Regions from separate parts of the Homo sapiens genome. Here region 1 is linked to region 2. Evidence: promoter capture Hi-C in 16 types of primary human blood cells and fetal thymus (Javierre and others, 2016). All regions are on one chromosome and are shown on one strand. The core of a region is centred on a gene start or on the middle of the fragment in contact, and the rest is flanking DNA. Distances in the headings are between cores, read along the strand shown. Region 1 overlaps LOC105373109 (a long non-coding RNA gene). Region 2 holds the start of WDR26 (WD repeat domain 26).

The links. Contacts are between HindIII fragments. The CHiCAGO score rates a contact against its expected background, and 5 or more counts as called.
Region 1: a fragment that was not itself captured here is called in contact with the fragment with the promoter of WDR26 in region 2 in 1 of 17 cell types (M2 macrophages); the score reaches 6.2 in M2 macrophages.

What each region holds. Positions count from the first base shown.
Region 1 is chr1:224,897,456-224,902,249 of GRCh38, reverse strand. The region is part of intron 1 of LOC105373109 (a long non-coding RNA gene); the gene reads left to right. Among named protein-coding and RNA genes, the nearest start is that of DNAH14, 30 kb to the left of the region's middle. The HindIII fragment of the contact is 2,627 bases long and covers 1,124-3,750 here.
Region 2 is chr1:224,431,581-224,436,144 of GRCh38, reverse strand. It overlaps WDR26 (WD repeat domain 26), which reads left to right and starts at 1,348. Exons shown (of 14, transcript NM_001379403.1): 1 at 1,348-2,461; 2 at 4,364-4,463; 3 at 4,564. The coding sequence starts at 1,740. It also overlaps a transcript of CNIH3 not described here. RefSeq lists an enhancer at 440-629 and a silencer at 970-1,369. The HindIII fragment of the contact is 13,558 bases long and covers 1-4,564 here.

The DNA.
Region 1 (4,794 bases), core at 1,188-3,687, 470 kb before region 2:
TCATCTCTAAGAAACAGTCCAGGAAGCCGAACAATAACTCCTGCAACCCCTGCAAAATGACCAGTACTTAATAGTTGACAGCTTCCCTAATTAGGACCAGCCAGAGAAATCCAAATACACACCCCTAAGCAATAACATAGGATGCCCCACTTCCAGTTAGCCTGCCTACAGCTTCTCATTTTTCCAATTCCTGCCTCTGTGTCTTACACAGTATGTAACTGGGCAAGTAATATTTTTTTCTCTGCCTCAGCATTTCCTCTATAAATCGGAGATAATAATAGTATATACTTTATAGGGTTGTTAGGAGGATTAAATTACCTAATTTATGTACAGTGTTTAGAATACTGCCAAGTGCCTAATGAATGTTAAATAAATTTCAATTTCCATTGTTTTATATATCAATCCAATGTTCAGCTTATTAAGATGTTATGGAGTAACTAAAACATTCCACCTCCCATTGTGGGAACCTACATGTCAGAAAATATCCATGTGCGTTTCACTCATTCCTCTCCCAGCTCTCCAAAATATAGTTGCAATGAGCTTTCAATCTGGTTGTCTTTGAAGAAATTGCTTTCAAGTGAGGAAGCAAAGGCTGCCGGGCAAGTATATGAACATGGGGGTTGCTGAGGAATTTGTGTGAAATGATCAAAGAACCCTTCTGTGCGGTCTCCATTTGATATAGCAACTCTTCTGCTACTAATGCTTCACACGTAGGCACTTTCTGCTTCATACCTCCTACACTATGCTTCACACATGGGTGCTTATTGCTGGAGTGGTGTGGCAGACACTGTTGGGTGCCTACCCAACTCCCATTCTCCCCTTATTCCTTACTCATAGATCCCAGTTCTGTTAAGAGAATAGGAGGCCAGTTGCTTCTAGGGAAGTTAAGCCCTTCCCCAGATCCAGGGGGTGAATCTTGATCAGTCTGTCAGTTATGAGGATTCCATTCCTTTACTAGTGGTTACATTAGGAACAGCTGTGTGACACACTATGGTCAGTGATATGTGATGGGAAATCTGCTGAGGGGACACTGGGAAGATTTTTCTCCCACTTAAAAAGGAATCCAAAGAATAAATACCTTTTCCTCCAGCTACTAGACGTTGTTATGCATGGATGGGAAGCTTGGAAAGGCTGCAACCTTCTTAAGAACTGAGAGGAAAACAACAGAGTGGAAGGATGCTGTTGGTCATCGCTGGTCCTGATGACACAGTTGAGCCTCTGAATCAACCAGCCTGGAACCACCATTCTTGGGCCTTCCTGTTAAATGAGATAATAAATATTTTAAATTGATTAACCCAACTCTTAAACTTTAATGTTCAATTCAAATCCCTTGGAGGTCCTGTGAAAGCAGAGAGCCTGATTTTGTAGGTCTGGAGTGGTGCCTCAGATTCTGCTTTTCTTGCAAGCCCATGGATGATGCCGATGATGCTCGTCCACAGACTTGGAGTAGCAAAGACTAAAGCCACTCTTTCCTGGGCTTTCTGTTAGTTTCAGTGGAAAGAATGTCACTTAATTTGCTTTTGGTTATAGACGGAATTTAAAATTGAAGATGCTGAGAGAGAGGAAAAAAAGAAAATAGATTGTCTCTGTGGCTGGACATATAAACTGAGAGACCATACTCTTTCTTGTGGATAAATTAGCAGAAGCCTGTAGAGAAAGAGCAGCAGCAGGAAGAGAGGTACAGAACCAAGAGGCAGGAAGAAAACACTATGGGCAGTGGCAGGGGTGGTGATGAAGGTTTTCTGGTTTCCAGTTCCATTCTTTCCTGAGACCCAGCTGCATTCCTGCTCTTAGAAAAACCCTTTGGCTTACGATTGCTCAAATTGTTTTATGCAACCTGCTACTGAATAATCCTGATTAGTGCCGGTGCTCAACCAGTAGGGTCATGCAACTGTGTTTTTGTTTCTCAAATGGGAAGCTCTCTTTGAGAGCAAGTAGCTTTTACTTTCACATGTGCTATAGCATTGACTTTATTTATTTATTTATTTATTTATTTATTTATTTATTTATGAGACAAGGTATCTCTGTCACCCAGAGTGGAGTGCAGTATTGCAATCATAGCTCACTGCAGCCTTCAACTGCTGGGCTCAAGCTATACTCCCACCTCAGCCTTCCAAGTACCTGGGACCACAGGTGCATGCCACCACACCCGGCTAAGTTTTTTTTATTTTTTGTAGAGACAGAGTCTCACTTTGCTGCCCAGGCTGGTCTAGAATTCCTGGCTTCAAGCGATCCTCCCACCTAGGCCCTCCAAAGTGTATATTTTAAAACTTATAGCTTTTTTCCATTTGCTTACTTATTCCCCAGCACCAAACATAGTATCTGATAGATAATTGATGATCTGAAAATTCTGACTCCGTGAATAAAATGATGGACACACTCACAAGAACTTTACAGGAAATATGTATGTAGTTCAGCCAACTCTGATTCCATGTAAATCTCCCTCATATACTTTGTTTTCACCAAATCTGTTAGTACTGTGCTCCTTTGTGCATATGACTATGATAATGATGAAATAAGATGCATATTCTTCTTAAAGCCCTAAAGTTTTGTGTAATGTTCCTTGACAGAAGTGTTGTTCACTACTTATGTTCACTACATAAGATAGTGCTACAATCTGTCATCTTTTTAAAAATAAGTTTTATTGAGATATAATTCACATACCATATAATGTATTCATTTAAAGTGTGCAAGCCGGTTGTTTTTAGTACTCATATAGTCACCAAATTGTACAACCATCACCATAATCACTATTAAAATATTTTTATCATACCTGAAAGAAATCCCATACTATTTAGCAGTCATTCTCAATTTCTTCCCAGCCCACAGCCATGAAGCAACTACTAATGTACTTTCTGTAGATCTACCCATTCTGGACATTTCATGTCAATGGAACTGACTTCTTTACTTAGCCTGATACGTTCAAGATTTATCCATGTTGTAGTGTGTATTAGTACTTCATTTCTTTTCATGTGTGAATTACATAACATTGTATGGATATACCATTTTGTTTATCTCTTCATCTGTTGATAGATGTTTGGGTGATTTCTACTTTGGGGCTATTACAAATAATGCTGTTATGAACATTCATGTACAAGTTATGGTCTGGATATATGTTTTTATTTCTCTTGGGTAGATATCTAGGAGTGGAATTGCTGGGTCTTATGGTAACTGACTCTATGTTTCATCTTTTGAGTTGCCAAACTCTTTTTCCAACGTAGCTGCACCGTTGTACTTTCCCACCAGGAGTATATGAAGGTTCTGATTCCTTCAGCACTTTGTTATTATCTCTCTTTTTATTACAGCCATCCTAGTGGGTATAAAGTGGTATGCCATTGTGATTTTGATTTGCATTTCCCTGATGGCTAAGGAATGCATAATCTTTTGTCTGATAAAATTGAGAGGAAATGAATTTTTCTGGATAATCAACCATCTCTTATTTGTTTAGGATGTTTCTTCCAATAGGCTTTTTTTCCCCAATAAAACAGTTTTCATGCTTTCCAATTTACTTAAAAATCAGAACAATCCACCGTCATTATTTTTATCTAGGTGTTTCACATATGTATGCCCCCTGAAGGACACACATATTTATAACCCCATAGTCCCTATTGCAATAGTTCTTTGTGTGATGTAGGTATTTTACAAAGACATAATGAATGAATAAAGTAATAATACTTCAAAGAAAAGCTGTATTTTATCCTAGCAACTGTTCTCATGAGAACAGCAAGCAGCAGTACTCAGAGTGAAGCTTTTCAGAGCTGCTAGATATTTTTGATTCAATCTTTGCTTGCCCATTAAAACATTCATTGCATTGTGAATAAGAAAATCCAAACAATCTCCCACCCACCACAACTTTGCAAACCACAAATACATAAATCAGAAGATGTAGTTCATGACAAAAATTCTGGATTATGAGAGAATGGGGATGGTAAATGGATTGAGACAACTGAGAGACTGAATAGACAAATGGACAATGGCCAGAACATATATAAAAATAGAACTCTGATCCACAACCTGCAGCAATCAGGCCAGGAAACAACCCTATTATCTACAATAAACAGCCCAGGAAGCCAGTCTATGATCCACAAGTCAGACTTGCTGGAGATTTGACTACTATCTCTAAGAAACAGTCCAGGAACCCAAACAATAACTCCTGTAACAATTGGCCTCAAATGGCCAGCACTTGCTTCAATAATTGACAGCTTCTTTAATTTTTCTACTTCCAACTTAGGAACTACCAGAAAAAGTCAAATATGCACCCCTAAACATTACACAGGATGCCTCATTTATAGGTAGTCTGTCTGCAGCTTCCCCATGCCAACAGCTTCCAATCAGGGTACACATGAATTCTCTTTTTCCCTACTATAAAGCTTTCCCACTCCTCTGCCTGCCTTTGAATCTCTGCCAAAATGCAAGGGATGACTCCCTCACTATAGTAATCTCTGAATGCATATCCACTCCCTGTTCTCATGTGGTTGGTCTTTATTTCCACACAGGCTGTTTGGATTTAATATCCTAGCCTGATTTAGAATCTGCTTAACTATTTTCTGAATCCAGTTGAAAGAAGTAGTATTCCTATGACAGTCAGGTTACTATGAGTCAGTCTGGTGGCATGGAAAGCGCATGAGGCTTGGAGCTAAGAGATGATTATTGTAGTCCCAGCACACTGCTAATCACTTTGTGACTCTGGGCATGTGGCTGCTGGAGAGTTAGGTTTCTCTAGTTATAAAGTGGGAATAGTGGAGGCCTAAACTATATCTCTAAAATAGCTTCTGTTTCTTAATCACAGAATAC
Region 2 (4,564 bases), core at 99-2,598:
AGTAAGAACTACAAAACCAAATCCCTGTAAGATCCTGCATTGACCTTCCTCTTACTTCTTCCTGTCTGAGGATCCATAAACCTCAGGATTCTTTACTAATTTCTCATCAGCATCATTTTTTATTGTATTTCCAAATTTAAAAACAACTGTCTCCAAAGGCCTCAAAATTACTTTCAGTTATTACTATAATAAATATCAGCGATGTATGATGTATTAATTAGAAACTAAGGTGTTTTTTTTCCCCTCCCCACAGGAAAACTACTTCAGAGAAAGACTTTAAATTTCTGAGAAAATCTTTATACATATTGAGTATAGATGCTATCAACCACATACATGAAAATAATTGTTTGGGGATAATGCACACCATTTGCCAATGATTAAGATTCAGCCCAGTCTTTGTTGCTGCATTTCTACATTCACATAAATTGGTAAGTCATGATGACACAGAAGGCTCACATGCCACGTAAAAATTTCAAGCCTGGATCTGAATGGGTGCCTGAATCCTTCTCAGAATGCATATTTTGGAGGCAACTGTTTGGTTTATGTTACTGCTCCCTAAACTGGGCAGTGACTCAAGAGGCAGCTGGAAGAGAGAAGGAGGTGCTGGGCAAGTGCTAAAAAAGAGTGAAGCCTCAACAGCAGAGTCCCTCCCCTTCTCTACACACCACACAGCCTTTTTGTGACTTCTTGTCCCCATAAGATATGCTCCTCTAGACTAACTCCCCTTCCCAGGGTGGAGCAGAGTCTCACCGGCTCATTATCTCACAGCTCCCGGGATGGCCCCGGGTACAGCAACTGTGTGGCACTTGGCTGTGGAAATTCAAGTTTTTCCACCCTAAAACAAGTAGGTTGTGAAACCCGATTTCGGTCCTGGTTACCATTGAGAGGGGCCTACCACAGCCCTGTGCCTGGAAGTTCCTGCCTGTCGAAGCTCCTAGCCCCCTGCCCCATCCTCACCTTCTGCACCTGATGGAGAAGGTGCAGTCCCTCCGCGCACCTTACATGCCCATGCCACACTGGTGGACTCACGCACGCACGCCAACTCTGCCATCCCATGCACGCCCGGCTTCGGAGGGCGGCTACGAACTTACTGCTCGTCGAGCCAGCCGAGCCAGGGCGCAAGGGGAAAGGCCCGAGCGGGGCCGGGGATAGGATCGGATAGGAGTCGGGGTCGTGGATGGGGTCGGGGCGGACCCCGCCGGCCCGCTGGCCTCCCTCCCCTGACCCCCGGGACAGCCCCCGATGCACGTGCTGGGTGACAGGCCCCCTATAGGTTCCATACCTGCCACCGGAAGTGAGTGAGGAGGGCAGTATAGGCATTTCCTGTGACGCGAGCGCCTGGACTCCATTAGGCAGCAGCTGGGGGAAGAATCAACACACCAGGGAGCAGAGCGGAGCGGATCCGAGGACAGAGGCGGCAGCTGCCTCCGCTGCCGCCCGCCGCCGCCGCCGCCGCAGCCACTGCCGGGGCTCAGCCCAGCGGCGGGCCCCGCGCCCCCGCAGCCGCCCCGCGGCGCCCCCCGGCGCGACCCCCGGGCCGCGCACCCCGAGCTGCCTCCGGGAGGGGGGGGGGAAAGGGCCCGGATCCTCCTTCTCCCCCTCCTCCTCCTCCCCCTCCTCTCACCCTCACCCTCACCCTCCTACCCTGACCCCCTCCCCGCCTCCCCGGCCCCCCTCACCCCGACCCTCTCCCCGGCCCCCGCCTCCCCTCCCCCGCCTCGCCCCACCGGCTTCCCACCACGGCCTCTCTCGGCGAGGAAACTCTGGCCTCCGCTTCCTCCTCCTCCGACTCGGACACCGGCGGAGCCTCCCCGCCCCCGCGGAAGAAACCCCGAGCCTCGGCGGCGGAGGGAGTAGGAGAGCCCGGGGCTTCGGCAGGCAGAGCAGGCCTCTCCCCTCCGTCCTCGTCGTCCTCGTCCTCCTCCTCCTCCTCCTCCTCCGTGGTGGTAGTGGTGGGACTTCCCCCGGCTGCTGCCCCTCCCGCCGCCGCTGCTGTCCCCCACCGAAGTAGCGGCCACAGCCTGGTCAGCGGCAGCATCATGCAGGCCAATGGGGCAGGAGGAGGAGGAGGAGGTGGCGGCGGCGGCGGTGGAGGAGGAGGGGGCGGCGGGGGCCAGGGACAGACCCCGGAACTCGCCTGCTTGTCGGCCCAGAACGGGGAGTCGTCCCCCTCGTCGTCGTCGTCCGCGGGGGACCTGGCCCACGCCAATGGGCTCCTGCCTTCCGCCCCCTCCGCCGCCAGCAACAATAGCAACAGCCTGAATGTCAATAACGGGGTTCCCGGCGGGGCGGCCGCCGCATCCTCAGCCACCGTCGCAGCTGCCTCCGCCACCACCGCCGCCTCCTCTTCCTTGGCCACCCCAGAACTGGGCAGCAGCCTCAAGAAGAAGAAGCGGCTCTCCCAGTCAGATGAGGATGTCATTAGGCTAATAGGACAGCACTTGAATGGCTTAGGGCTCAAGTAAGTATCCCTTACCGCCAGCTGGTGATGGACAGACCGAGGGACGGAGGCTCCAGGGGGGTAGGGGAAGGGGCGGAGGGGGGAGGGGGGCTTGAAAGAGCTCGGTCAAAGAGAATGAGTGCTGGGCACGCAGGACCCAGTACACAGGAGGACGCGGCTCAGGGCGACCGGGGAGGAGGAGCGGACCTGAAAGGAAATAGGGGAAAATCAATCAGTCTGACAAATTGTGAGACGAGACAGGCGTTGAGGGGTTAGGAAGGGTTAGGAGAAACCCAAAGAATGACTTCTCCCCACGCACCTTCAGAGCTTAATTGTCTGTCAATAAAGACAGATGCGGGAGTGTGTTTCTGTATGTGTTGGGGGAGGGGTGGATTAGAGCTGGTGGAAATAATGAACCTTGGAGGATTTGTTTTTCAAGTGTATCTTGGAGGCATCTTTGTGGGACACCTCCCCACCCCCAACCGTGGCAGACAACAACCCAAGCAAACTACCAATCAGGAAAGACAATCACCTACAAGTGTTTATGGGAACGGAGGGGCTGGGATCATTTGGAAAGAGGTTGTTGAATAAATCTGATGCGAATAATGAAGATACAGTGTTGATGTCGTTTAAAGGCCCTTGTGTGTGTGTACAAGAGGCCTAACCCTAACTAGTCTGAAATCTCAGTTTAATACCAAGAAGATGATCGCCTCTGAAAAGGGGACATCTGATCTGGTGAACCATTTGTTTTCAAATACAATTTAGGTGGCCTTGTATACCTAACATAGGGTGAAGGTAGACAGCGACCTTGGACAAAAACCACCGTTTTGTATACACACAAAGAAAAACTAAGGGGGTGGAAGGTAGGATTGGTGGGAGTGCCTGATGAAGGAGGTGCAAGAGACGGAGTCAGAATGAAATGAAGGGGGGAGGACGTGCAGCAGCAGTCAGTTTCCTACATTCAGAGTGTAGATTAAGCTCTCAGGCTAGCCGATGTGTACTTTTGCATTTATGGATTTCTTGGGGAGTGGGGAGGAGAACAGAACTTTTTAAAAGTGGCACAAGTATTTCGGTTTTCAGGCAGATCATTGCACTGTTTAGCTAAAAATTAAGTTTTAAAGCTGAATAAGAAAGCATTGAAACATAAGCACAAAAAATAGACTGATAAATGAAGGTTCTTAGATACCAGAATACATGAGGGAAGAAAATACAGTTGATGAATCTTTTAAGTGCTCAAAGACAAATATGTGGTAGGAAGAATTCACTTTATTCCCTAGGGAAAAGGATTAGTATGAAAACAGATTTTGTAAATGCTAACAGAACATATTACTGAGACAAGAAGCAAGCTGACAGCAGCAGGAGGAAATAACTCGTGACTGTTTGGAACCTACACCATAGTAAATTTGCTATTTTTAGTATAGAGAGAAAGGGAATGATTTTTGATGCTGGATTTGTTTTAATTTTAAAGATTGACCTAGTAGAATTTCTATGCAATATAATACCTGGATATATAAGCTCTTAACTGATACGGTCATCTCTGTTAACCTTGTGTGAAGCTAATAATTTTTATCTTTCAAAATGTAACGTAGTATGTTGATTCTGGTTTTTCATTTATTTGACTAGTTGGTTACAGCACATTTTTAGAAATTTTATACTTTATGCATTAAATTGAGGCATTAAATGGCAAACTAGGAAGAACTTACATTGATTCTGGTTTCAAGAAAGGTTTTTAACTTGACTAGGAAAAAATGTAGGTGTCAGTTTTAAATAAAGTTTGTTTAACCAGGCACATGAAAGCTATTTTTTTCTTCATCATGAGGCTAGCTTAAAAACTTTGCATCTGTTTTCATGGACATTAGTTTATTTGAAGGATTAAAACCCTAAAATTGGTCAGGTCTGTTTTACACTGTATCTTTCCTGCAGCCAGACTGTTGATCTCCTCATGCAAGAGTCAGGATGTCGTTTAGAACATCCTTCTGCTACCAAATTCCGAAATCATGTCATGGAAGGAGACTGGGATAAGGTAAAGTAGGGCATATAGAGCTGTGTGACTGCTGCTAAAATTACAGATTTGATGTGCATTTTGTGACATTTCTGTTTTTCTTTTATACCAATTTTTACAGG